Linked DNA regions of Homo sapiens: region 2 is linked to region 1. The links are contacts of gene promoters, found by promoter capture Hi-C in blood cells and fetal thymus (Javierre and others, 2016). All regions are on one chromosome and are shown on one strand. Each heading gives the region's core, a stretch centred on a gene start or on the middle of the fragment in contact. The rest is flanking DNA. Distances are from core to core; before and after follow the strand shown. Region 1 holds the start of NLGN1 (neuroligin 1). Region 2 has its middle 410 kb from the start of NAALADL2.

What was found. Contacts are between HindIII fragments. The CHiCAGO score rates a contact against its expected background, and 5 or more counts as called.
Region 2: a contact is called between a fragment that was not itself captured here and the fragment with the promoter of NLGN1 in region 1, in 1 of 17 cell types (endothelial precursors). The highest score is 5.2, in endothelial precursors.

The regions. Positions count from the first base shown.
Region 1 is chr3:173,394,511-173,400,535 of GRCh38, reverse strand. NLGN1 (neuroligin 1) reads right to left here and starts at 2,792. Exons shown (of 7, transcript NM_001365925.2): 1 at 2,473-2,792. RefSeq lists an enhancer at 4,024-4,523 and silencers at 4,749-4,838, 4,859-4,938. The HindIII fragment of the contact is 3,156 bases long and covers 1,180-4,335 here.
Region 2 is chr3:174,441,596-174,447,620 of GRCh38, reverse strand. It overlaps a transcript of NAALADL2 not described here. Among named protein-coding and RNA genes, the nearest start is that of NAALADL2, 410 kb to the left of the region's middle. The HindIII fragment of the contact is 954 bases long and covers 3,687-4,640 here.

The DNA of each region.
Region 1 (6,025 bases), core at 1,543-4,042:
TGGATCAATGAAGAAAGATTAGCATAAGCAAACCACAAAATCCTAAAATGGTATGTAGTGTTGGGGAAAATAGTAATTAAGAGTCTTGTGAATGGACTAAAGAGTGAATTCAGAAGGGGGGCCAGGAGGACAGTGTTTTAATCTACATAAGGAGGTTTAAGAATGAATTGTGAAAAGCATTGAGTGGCATTAGGGTTGTGGACTTTGGCATGTAATAATCTATAAGGAGCCACTGGCCAATGTTAATAAGATCATACCTATATTTCAGAAATAATAATAATAATATTAAGTCTAGAAGACTGGACTTTGGTGATTTCATTTACAGATAATTAAAACATAACTGAAAAATCATATCTTCCTATTGACAATCCAGTAAGATGGAAACCGACTGCAAACTTCACTTCAAAAACTAAGCCTTTAAAATGTGGCAAAGGTATATGTTACACAGCTGCAGTTTCTAATACTACTGTTACTTTTAACTGTGTTTTGCTTACAAAAACTACAAATTAGTATTTGTTAGGTAATTTGTGAAATAACTCCTTTGTGTAAAAATAATAAAGAATTATCAAGATAAACCATTACTATGTTAAAAACTGTTTCAATACATGAAAACCCAGAGAGATACGTCACTCAAAGCTATATCTGTATTAATATTGTCTCACAAAAAGTTGTCAATAGCATTAAAATGTATGTGAAAAATTTTATAAAAAACTCAGATCTCAGATTTATAACTGTATTTTATAGTTCTAGCTACTTAATTATCCTATAAAGAAAACCAGAAACAGCTAGTTTAATGTAATTTGAAGGGATATGTAGATCTTGGCACTGGATAACCATGTGAAAATAGTAAAAGCAGAATAAAATATAAGAATTTCAGAGTTGGAAGAGACTTTGGAGAGTGATCCAAGAAAGTCATCCAGGAATGCATAGGGTCATCAGGCCTTCCAACACCCTGCAAATGAAACCAATGGAGTTCTCAGCCTACCTTCTTTAAGTGTATATTTCACCTTCAACTTCAAAGCCATTCAAACATTTACATTTGAAAATATGTTATTACTAAATGTAAGTGGAAAATTTCACAAAATAAAACTATACTGAGGGAATAAAGAAAAGATTGACAGCAAGTACTTTGGGGGTGGAAGAAGGGAGACAATGGGAAGGACGGGAACTAAAGAAGCTTTTCTTACTCCACACTACTGGAACTCTAGTAGAATCTGCTGAAAGATTGACTCCCTCAATTTCTGCTTATGTTAAGAGGATTGGGAAGACTAACTGCAGAATAGCAGGCTTACAGAAAACAGTTACTTCTTTTAATCAAACCATGTAATCAGAAGGCCTGAGTAATGATTAACTTCCACTTTCTCTGTGAATCACTCAATCACTCTGCAGTGCAAGTAGACTTAGATTCATTCTCTGCCAAAGGCACAGTAAATTTAATGTTTTTGCATTTAACATTTAATATTTTAAATATATGAATGGCCCTTGCTTCTGAGCTCATTTCAAAAACCTTGTGTTCTGCTAGGTTACAATGGCTGATAGAAATGCTGAGACATTTTATAGGTTTTACACTCAAACATAGGTACACATACCCTTTCTCAGTGACATTTTAATATCTATGATCCTATTAATAATTGAGCACAATTAATGGTGAGAAATGCATTAAGACCCTGTAATTTTCATGTACAGCATGACAACTCAATTGACTTAAGCAAAAATAGTCTACCGGAGTTTGAGTATAAAAAGAGGGAAAATGAGTATATTAACTACCTGTAAAAATGCAGAGTAACAGATACTGGGTTAACTATACGAATTCACGTTTCCCAAGTGTTATATGTATCACTATGGCCCTGGAAATGCAAAAAGAAATAGTACCTTTGTGGAGGCCAACTGTTCATGATTTAGAATTATCACAAATGAATCAAATATTGGACATGTAATATCCCTCATCTCTATAACACACTAACAACCTCCTCTGGAAGAAATTATTCCCAATGCAAAATCTCAACCTAAATAATTTTAAATTCAGGTGGTTTTTCATTTCTACTCACAAGGCATTGTGTTGAGGCGGGCAGGAGTCGGTGGAGAACGGTTTAAATGTTTGGAATACCTTCTCTTCCCAGGAGAGTTTATTGCCCAATAATGCATAATATATTAGTTGCTCAACGCGGGGGATCTAGGGAGTGACATCTTGACTGGAAACACACAGATCTGAAAACCACCTCTCAGGAAACGTTGTGGGGAAGAAGAGCAACTTTCTTATCCCTGTCAAACTAACCGGCGGAACCAACCCCAGAACTAGCCGGAGGGCCTGGGGAGAGCAGAAGGCTGAAAGCAGCTCCTCTGCGCTCCGCCGAGGGTTCAGGCAAGGGTTTTCTTCTGGAGGCGGCATTGTTCCTCCATCTGCTCAGCCTCCGTATTTCGCCAGGAAACCCTCCCCGCTTTCTCGTAATCTGTTCCTTATTTCTTTTGTACCTCTCAGCCGATTTCCATGCTCTTGGTCTCTGTGGTCCCAGGGCACAGCTCTAGGGTGAAGAGCTGCAGTGACTGGGGCGCCGCTCTAAGGCTTTGGAGGCGACTGCACTCCGCCCGGGCTCTGGCAGCGTGAGCGCCGCACAGTCGCTCGCTCCCTTCTCTCCGGTCTCTCCGGCTCGGACGGGCTCTCCCGGCCTCTCATCACCCACTCCGACTCGCCTTTCCTGCCGTGTCTCCCCACGCCAGCTCCGCGCGCTCGGCGCTGGCCGCCCGGGCGCGCTCTCCGCGCCGCCGCCTGATCCTCGGCTTACAGCCGCGGCGCTCCCCCGCCCGCCCACAGGCCGGGACTCCGAATTGAAGGGTCAACCCTCCGCGGGGAGGCGGGGAGGAGCGGCGAGGAGAGCTGGGGCAAGTGGGGAGCCGCGGGTGGGGGGACTGACGGGGGAACGGGAGAGTGAGGCCAAGAAGAAAGAAGATGCATCTGCTCCGAAGACGCCAATGAAGAAAGGACAGAGGGGGCAGGAGTGGAGTGGGGGAGAGAACGCCCACCAGGAGGGTGGGCAAAACGGGCAATTTACAAACTGCCGGGGCTGGAGATGCCGCGCGGAGGAGGAAAGAGGTTAGCGGCACAGAAGAAGAAATGAGGGGAAGTTCCCACATCTCCCCAAAAGGTCACGTTTGAAAACCGTGTCCCTTGAACGGGAGTTAAACAAGCGACTGGCCATGGTGTAAAAGGTGGATTTAAAAGGAAATTTAGTGTCATGTACTTATTTAGACACGGCTTCGTCTCGCTCAACTCTGGCAAATTACCCTCCAAGTAAAATGTATTGGTTTTATGCAGAAACGGAAGGCGAATCTCCTCCACTGTGGACTCCTCCTGAGATTGGTTTGTTTGCTGGTTATCTTTCTTTTTAAATGAAAAAAAGCGTTTGGGAGCTTCCATGAACCCCAACGCTTAAAAAAAACCACCCAGTTTATTAAAGTTCATTATTTTTTATTGCTTTTATTTTCATCAGAGGATAGGGTGAGGGACTGGCATCTTCAGATGTTTAAAACACTTATTTAGGTAGCATTATTTTTTATAAAGGACACGATTTCCTAAAACCGCCAGAAAGGCTATTGGAAAACTCAGCTACTAGCCTGGGAAAGAGAGACGCATTTAAACTCAAATAGACGATTATACCTCCAGCACCCCCCACCCCCACCCCAATGGGATTGGAAAAGGGTTGAGTTTACAGAAGAGAGAGAGCAGAGAAGGGTGGGTGGAAGGTGGGGAAGGCGAAGGAGAGGCAGGGAATAGGAAGTTCTCGGCAATCCCCGGGATTAAGGTAAACGCCGGAGCTCGGCGGACGCAGGAAGCTCCCTTACCTTTCTCTCTAAGCCCCGTTTGCACCTGATCTGCAACCATAAATACTTCGTGGTGCTTAGTGTGCAGCCAAACGATGGCCAAATGTTAAACAATTCTTCACGCTCCCTCCCCCTTTTAAAAAACAGGCTCAAAAGAATGTTAATAGTGTTCTTGTTATCCATCGGCTCCAAAACATTCCGTTTCGTGGGGAGGAGAGACGAAAACCAGGCCCTTGGGCACGCGTATATGTATTTATATATTATGCGGTCGGTATATAAACATATATACGTTTCCTGCATGTAAATCCAAAATGAAAAGCACCACAGATGCTTCTGTAAACGGGAGGGGACAGCGAAGAGCAAAACTTGGCAAGCCAAATGTATCCAGAGATTTCGTACCAGGAGCCACCTGCTTCAATATGCAGAATTTCCGAGAAGATTTAGAGGGAGAAGGAAAAAAATTAAAAATAAAATACCCAAAACACACACTTGAAACTGGAAGACACCTATGAAGCTTGGAAATGGAGAGGATGAGAAGATCTCCCGGGGCTACAGATCCTCAGCTAAGTGAGCAATCGCCTCCGAAAATCATAGGCGGGGAGGTGGCTGCAGATGCGTCCCCTGCTCCGGTCCCCGCCGCCGCCGCCGCCGCCGCCACTGCTACCTGTAGACACGCACACACACACGTACACGCGCGCACACACACTGCCACCTTCTCTCTCTCCCTCTCCCCTCACTCCGTGGCGTTGTCGGGTGCAGGAGTCTGAATCAAGCCAGACCATCCTCCAGACCCAATCCTGCCCCCCTCAGAGCCAGGACTCCCTCCGCTGCCTCCCTCTCCCCGCCCGGTTTATTGCACAGCGTCCCCTCCCCTGCGCGCCCCTCCCGCCGGTCGGAGGCGCGATCTTGGTGGGGGTGGGCTTCGGGGGCGCGGGTCCGGCGGTGGCAGACTTGGTGCTGGTGATGGCCCCTCCCTTTACAAGTTCCGCCCTCCTCCCTTACTCCTCCCGCGGCAGCCGAGCGTCCTCCGCCCGCAGCTTCCGCAGCGCCCGCGGCGGCAGGAGGGGTGAAGGGCCCAGGGAGTCACGTGTGAGGTTCGCCAAACCACTCAGAGCGGCGTGTGAGTGAACGGGCACGACCGCCCAGACGCGAGGCGTCGGACGCTCTGAGTTTCTGTCTTCTCGGCGTCATCGTGCTCCGGTTCCAGGCGTTTTCGTCTTGGTGACGGAGAGCGCGGAGTTGGAGGCAACAGCCTTCCACTGTGCCTCTTCTTTCCCCCGCCCCCCTCTTTTTGGTAAATCTCTAGCCACCAAACTCCCCTCTCTTTCCTCTGCTTCCTCTAGCTAGAGGCAGAGTAATCTCTGAATTGAAGCGTTCGTTGGCTGTAGACTGTTCCGTGCGAGTAGTGTGAACGCAACGCCACTGCCTTTGGCCTCTTCCTCCTGGCTGTGCCCACAGCTTCTGCCGCTGGATAGGTGATTTTAAAAAAATCACAGCTAATCATTGTTGGCTTTTGTGACGGGTGTGACTCACTGTAGCACATTGTTTACACCTACCCGCTTCCCACTAGCCTCTCTGTGTGAATTTTTAAATGTAAGTAAGTTGGAAGATAGGGCGGTGCCTACAGAACCACTAAGTTAACTGATTGCCACCTGTAATAATCGTAACCCCAAAAGGAAAACCTAGCAGTAGAAAAATCGCTAGAAGTGACACGTGAACTAGAGATATGTTTTTTCTCACCATTTAAGAGCTTGCTTCATATTTCTCAATCTCATGTATGCTTTAATCTCCACAATTCAAGTAAAAGAAAGGAACTTTAACATTTACACTGCAATGGCCCCTATCACTCACTCATTAATTAATAACAGTAAGTAAGAAACCAAGGTTCTACCATTTCCGCTCTGATTTTTAAAAAAACAGTCTTAAATATGACATGTTCCTTTGGCTTAGAGGAAATTCAGTACCACATTGTCTTGATGTCGTTTTAGAATCCAGTCTATCTTGTCATGTTTTTCTTTTTTTAAAAGTAAATTTTAGGCTATATGTTGACAAATCCAGCAGATTTCGGTAATGCTCCCAAGAAAGTGAAGTTTCTTTCTACTAAAACATGCATCTGATTCTTGGTAACAGGTGTACCATGCCCAACTTGCACAAGTTTGTCTAATTTGACAACCTAAACCCTTTGAAATTTGTCTGGAATTTCCTA
Region 2 (6,025 bases), core at 2,914-5,413, 1.0 Mb before region 1:
TGGTCTCAATCTCCTGACCTCGTGATCCGCCCACCTCGGCCACCCAAAGTGCTGGGATTACAGGCGTTAGCCACCTCGCCCGGCCAAATTTTATTTTTAAAATCATGTATTTTGCACTGGATGTCATATTCACATTCAATAGTGGTTCTGAATATTTAACTTACCCGTTAAATTATTTAACTACTTTCTCCAAAATATAGCAATAAGTTTTACAAAAGAAGATGGCCATATTTATCTATGGCTCGGAGCCCTCTAACAAAGCTCAGAGTACCCCAGTTAGAGAAGCATCATCTTGTTTTCCAGCTCCTAAGTGTTAATTTACAAATCATTCAGACTGGCCTATTCTGAGGGAGCCATTAATCCCCTAGAGACTAGGGTCTCTTTGGAAAAATTCTTAGAAGATAGATGACTGCTGGCACTCTATATTCAAACTATGACATATTACAAAAGGGCTGATGTAGGAATTATGTAACTCCTGTAAACAGAGCCTCTCTAGGATGTATCTCTCACATTGTCTTATCTCAACAAGTGCCAGTAACACAAGTATTTTCACACACATATAAAGGCAAGAGTAGGTTTCCTGCATAATTAGTAGCCATTTTACTTGAAGATACCTTGTTATTATTTTTAAAGTTTTCCAAAACTCTAGCAAAATTAAATGCAAAAAAGGGGTCCAGAACCACAAGGTTTCTTAAGGTTGCTCCTATCTTCATCTTCTCATCAGATCCCTCCATCCAAGAAGATAGGGAAAAAGGCTTTTATCACCTGAAGGTGATCAAAAATTTCAAGCTGGCTTCTACAACCAGCATTTCAAAAAAGTGTTATACTGCCCCAGAAGATGTTTACTTTGGTTTGAGTACTCTGAGAGTTCTATAACCATGCAGGAAATATGTTACAGGTTTGATTCCAAAAACATGAATCCCCCTGCCCCCAGGTGGAGACTAGGATACAGGGCTTGTTAGAACTGGATGCCCCAAGAAACTGTCAAATTACTGAGTACCATATTAAACTGAAATGAAAATACACACATACACACACACATACTATTTAAAGAGATAGCATGATCACTTAGGGATGCATTATTTGAAGTGACTTTATCACCAATGATAATTGTACTTGATGAACAGGAGTACAAAAGCACAGACTATGCAAAGTATAAGGTTTGACCAATATAATAGCTAAAATCCTAAAACTAAAGAATTTCATGAGTAATTTTATATACCAAGATTGTAAAAGAGCAAAAAGCCATTTGTACTACTTTAAAAATTCACATGTGATATTATATACAAAGAATATAAGTTTGAAAGTATGAAAGTTTCACTTTCTTTTAAAGGATTCATAGCACTTCTGAAGTTTTTCATGACTGACCATCTAAAAATTAAAATATCTCTACTATATTCCTATCAAATTGTACCTTGGTAATTAATACCCAGAGCATAAATTCCCAATATGATGAAAGTCTAATTTTTTAGAAACCACATTTATAAACAAGCAGTTAGGGAAAATTCATGCTGAGCTCAAAATATGAGGTTTCTGGGCAAGATAAATCACCTTTCTTATCTGAACTGCTCAGATCAAAATGTCAAAACAATTAAATTACAATTTTGTCTGACATCAATATCCCATGCAACAGTGCAAAACAGAAAACCTTGATTTCAGGAATACTGTTTGCTTTTAACTGGCAAACAAATTAAGCAATGAATCAAATTTTGTTTGGTAAAACAAACAAAAAATTAGGCACAATGCAGGTCAGAGCAGATCAGAGAGGTCAAGGACTTCATCAAGACTCACTTCTCATATAATCGCATGTTTTTTGGCTCAAAGGGAAAAAATATCTATTCTGTTACACAAATAGAAAACACACAAACATAAGGTCATATATTTTACTCCTATATACCAAATATCACTATAGATTTTAATAAACCACATATAAATCACATCAACTTTATAGTTACATCATATGTGCATGCCGACATCTAATAGTTATATATGTGTGAGGAAAGAGAGGTAGAAGGGGAGCTTAATTTTTCCCTTAACAAACCTAGTTCTCCTGTATAGCTGTCTCATCTATTTCTTTGAATGTACCACGTAAAAAACTATACAATCAAAATATTTTTGAACTGTAGGAAGCCTTAAAAATGATCTTGAGCTGCCTCCTCATTTTTCAGTAAAAAACTGAAGGCCAGGAAAGACATGGGCACAAAACTACCTGGGGACATAACTGGGACTATAATTATAGGCCCCTAACTCCTAATCTTTTGTATGAATTATGAAATAGACTAATGAGACGTACTCCTGAATATACTGGGGTTCATTATACTATTCTACCTTTGCGTGTCTGATAATTTACATAATAAAAGAAATATGTTTGGAAACCTAACAACCTAAAAGCATTCAGTACTCTTCATAAGGCATTTATCAATTGTATTGCAATATTTACATATATTCCCTTCTCCTCACTCTACTAAAAATGGTAAATTGAGGGCAGAGATGATGTCATTTACATAGTGGTTATCACCATCCCCTGCCAAGACTTTACGCAGAACCCTGTTTTATAGTAAGAATTCAAGAAACAAATGGTCCCTAAATAACTGAAAAAAAAAAAAAAATCTCAAACAAGGTTCCATTTCCAACTCTATCAATTCTCTCCATCTTGTCAAACTGCTCAATATCTATGAGTAATGTTGTCAAAATTCTACCATACATCTACAACCTATGTTGCCAATCCAGTCTTTTTCACATCATTTTCAAATGATATTTGTTGCCAATCGCTGTTTTTCACATTTTCAAAATCCAATCTGAAATCTAATCCTAACTAACATCTCTTCCAAGATTTAATACCACCATTCTATAATTAGACTGACCACTGGTGACAACACTGTTCTCCATTTGATCACACTTGGTACTTAAACAGAAAAGAGTTTGTTTGATAATAACGGTAATATTCTTAGAACGTTACTGTAGTTATAAGCTCCACGGGAGGTGAGACTCAATGTTGCTAACTTCCTCATCAGATCCCTTCTCAGGGATTTCATCATATGATTTAGCTTGCCTTATTTCCTCCTTTTCCCCTTTTATCTTGTAATCTCCACTTTCTCTTTAAGTCTTCTCCTAAGCAAAGCTCAAGGCAGAAATCCCCCTTCTGTCCTCAACAATGCACAAAGTTTTCTGTTTCAAGCAATTCTTAGAATCTCAAAGTATTCTTTCATCAAATATTCCTGACCAAATGGAAAAAATGGTAATGATTCCTACAAATTTCTCATGTACCACACCTGGATCTCATAAACAATGAGAAAAGAGAAGGGATCCAAATAGAACATCCACATTCCCCACCTCCATCTGTGCCCCCACACTTTTCCTTCTCTCATTTGTTCTAGGTAAATAGCTCATAACCCTAGCAACAGATAGTCTCTCTTGTTGTATGCATGTATCCTTTCTCACCTCCTCGTGAACAGCATTCCCCTCTGTCTCCTGCATCATCAATTTTTTGTTCTCTATTGGCTCCTTCTCATTAGTATCACAACATGCCATTGTTTTGTACACTTTAAAAAACTCTCTTTACATCATCTGGTCCTACAACTAACGCTCCATTTCCTCCCTCCCTTTTCAATAAAAATATTCAAGTGATGTATACCATCACCTTCTTCAATGTCTTTCTACTCTGTCAAACACATTACAAACAAGCTTTCATGTCTACTTCCTCCATGAAAACTGGCAACATCATGGTCATCAATGATTTCCTTTGCTAGATTAATTCTCAATCCTCATCTTTAAAACAACTGATCAGCCCTCTACTTCTTGAAACACTTCCAGGATTCCATATTCTCCTGCTTTCCCTTTTACATGGAATGCAGCTCTTTTTCAGACTCCTTTTTGGTTTCTCCTCATCTCATAATGCTGACGTACACCATTATGTACCAGATTTTATGACGTAAAGTCTGGTCCCTGGTCATCTTCAATATTCTAAACTCACACACTTTTGATGCATTCAATCTCTTCGCTTTTACAACCCGCTATATGATGAAGAGTCCTAAATGTATGCCATTAGCTTGGTCTTCCAGCTAACTGCATGCTTGACATTTCCATTTGGATATCTAAAACCCATCTAACACCTAACATATCCAAATCCAGATTCTTAATCCCAATTACATCTTCTTCCTGTTCTTTCCAATCTCAGTTAACAGAAACTCTTATCTTTCCAGTTGCTTAGGCAATTACATTCTCCTTAATTTCTTTTGCTCTCACATTCCATATCCTATCTCTCAGCAAACCCTGAGGAATACACCCTCAAAATATATATACAGAATATGAACTACTCACCACTTCCACTGCTATCATCCGGGTCTAAGCCACCATGATCTGTCACATAAATTATGATAGCCTAACTGTTATCCCTGCTTCTATTCTTGCTTTCTTCAGTCTGTTCTCAATACAGTAGGCAGAGTAATGGTATCAAACAGATGTGTTAGATCATGTCATTCCTCTTGTCAAAAGGCTCCAATGGCCTCCAAATGGCTTCAAGTAAAGGTTATCATTACAATAGCTTAGCAGACCATGTAGTACTATCTGGCCCCTATGACATTTAAAATCCCATATCCTACTTCTCCTCTATCCTCCATTCCACTTCAGCTACACAAGCTTCTTTGCTGATCCCTGAACACAGCAATGTGCCCGGCCTCTGCACTTGCTATTTCTCTGCGCCCGGAAACTCTTGCCCCAAATATATGGCTTACTCCCTCAACTGCTTCAAGTCTACTGAAATGTCACCTTCTCCAGAGGACTTCCGGTAAAATCCTATTTTAAATTACTAAACACACACTCTTTTTCCTGCTTTATGTAATAAGTCCATAGCACTTATTACGGTTTCACCTTATATTTTTCTTATGTACTACATATACTGTCTCCCTCCACTAGAATGTATATTCCAAGAAGCCAGAAGTTTCTTCTTTGCTTTATTCCAGTGTCAAGAACACTGCTTGGCACGCAGTAAGCAATCAACAAACAATTGTTGACTAATAAGTATTGAGTGTTCTACCTAAATATAATAATGCTTTATGTAAGCAATTAATAAATTACATTTCATTCTTGTTAGTCGTCCTACATTAAAGGTCTTTAATACTCTTTTTATGTTATCAGGAATGCATTACGTCATCCTTATTAAGAGGAGTTACTTTTACATTTCCCATAAGTCTTGAGATCAGACATTACTGCCGATTGTAAAGGAGAAAAAAAATCTCTAAAAAATTAAAGGTGAAAGTATTGTTAAAATAATTCCCCTTTCCATTAAGAATTCTTGGGGTGTGGGAAAAAATGGTGAAAATCGTACTTAAAATACCAAGAATCCAGTTTTAAACCCAACTCTTCCTTTTAAGCTTTTCCTCCCCCATTCTCCCAGAGCACTTCGTAGGATTAAGCCAGTGCTCACCATGGTCCCTTCTCCTGAGGACAGGAACGGAATCTCTTCTCTGTTAACCTGTCACCAGTCAGCACAGAATCTAACTCACAGATGACAAAGAACCGTTACCAAATCGAACTCACTGGAGTGGATACTACAGGATCCTATGACATAATTTTTAATGTTTGTCAAGATGTATTCCTTCAACAGAAGCAACACCATTATCTTAAGGTTCTCGGGTGGTTAAAAAAAAAGTCTATCTTTTCTGTTCCGCAGGGATAACTGCAACACAACTTTCAGTCCAGCAACTTAATCCACAGTTAATTAATCCTTTACACTCCTCAGGATGCAAGCCCTAGTAAATAAAGACAGCTTAAGGACCATAGGTTGAAATGTAAAGGCTACTGTATGCTATTCAATTGCTATTCTAAAAGTGAGGGGGAAAAGAACACAAGGCACCAAGAGACGCAATACAAAGGAAAAATGAAAAAAAAAAAAAAGCAAAGAATGTGGGGGAAAATAGGGAGGACGAGCTATGAAGCAATGCAACTGTAGGGCAAATGTGGTAGTAAGCCAGACGTTAGGGTAGAACCAGCAGCGCAGGCTCTGATCCCAGGCTGCTCTTTCCAT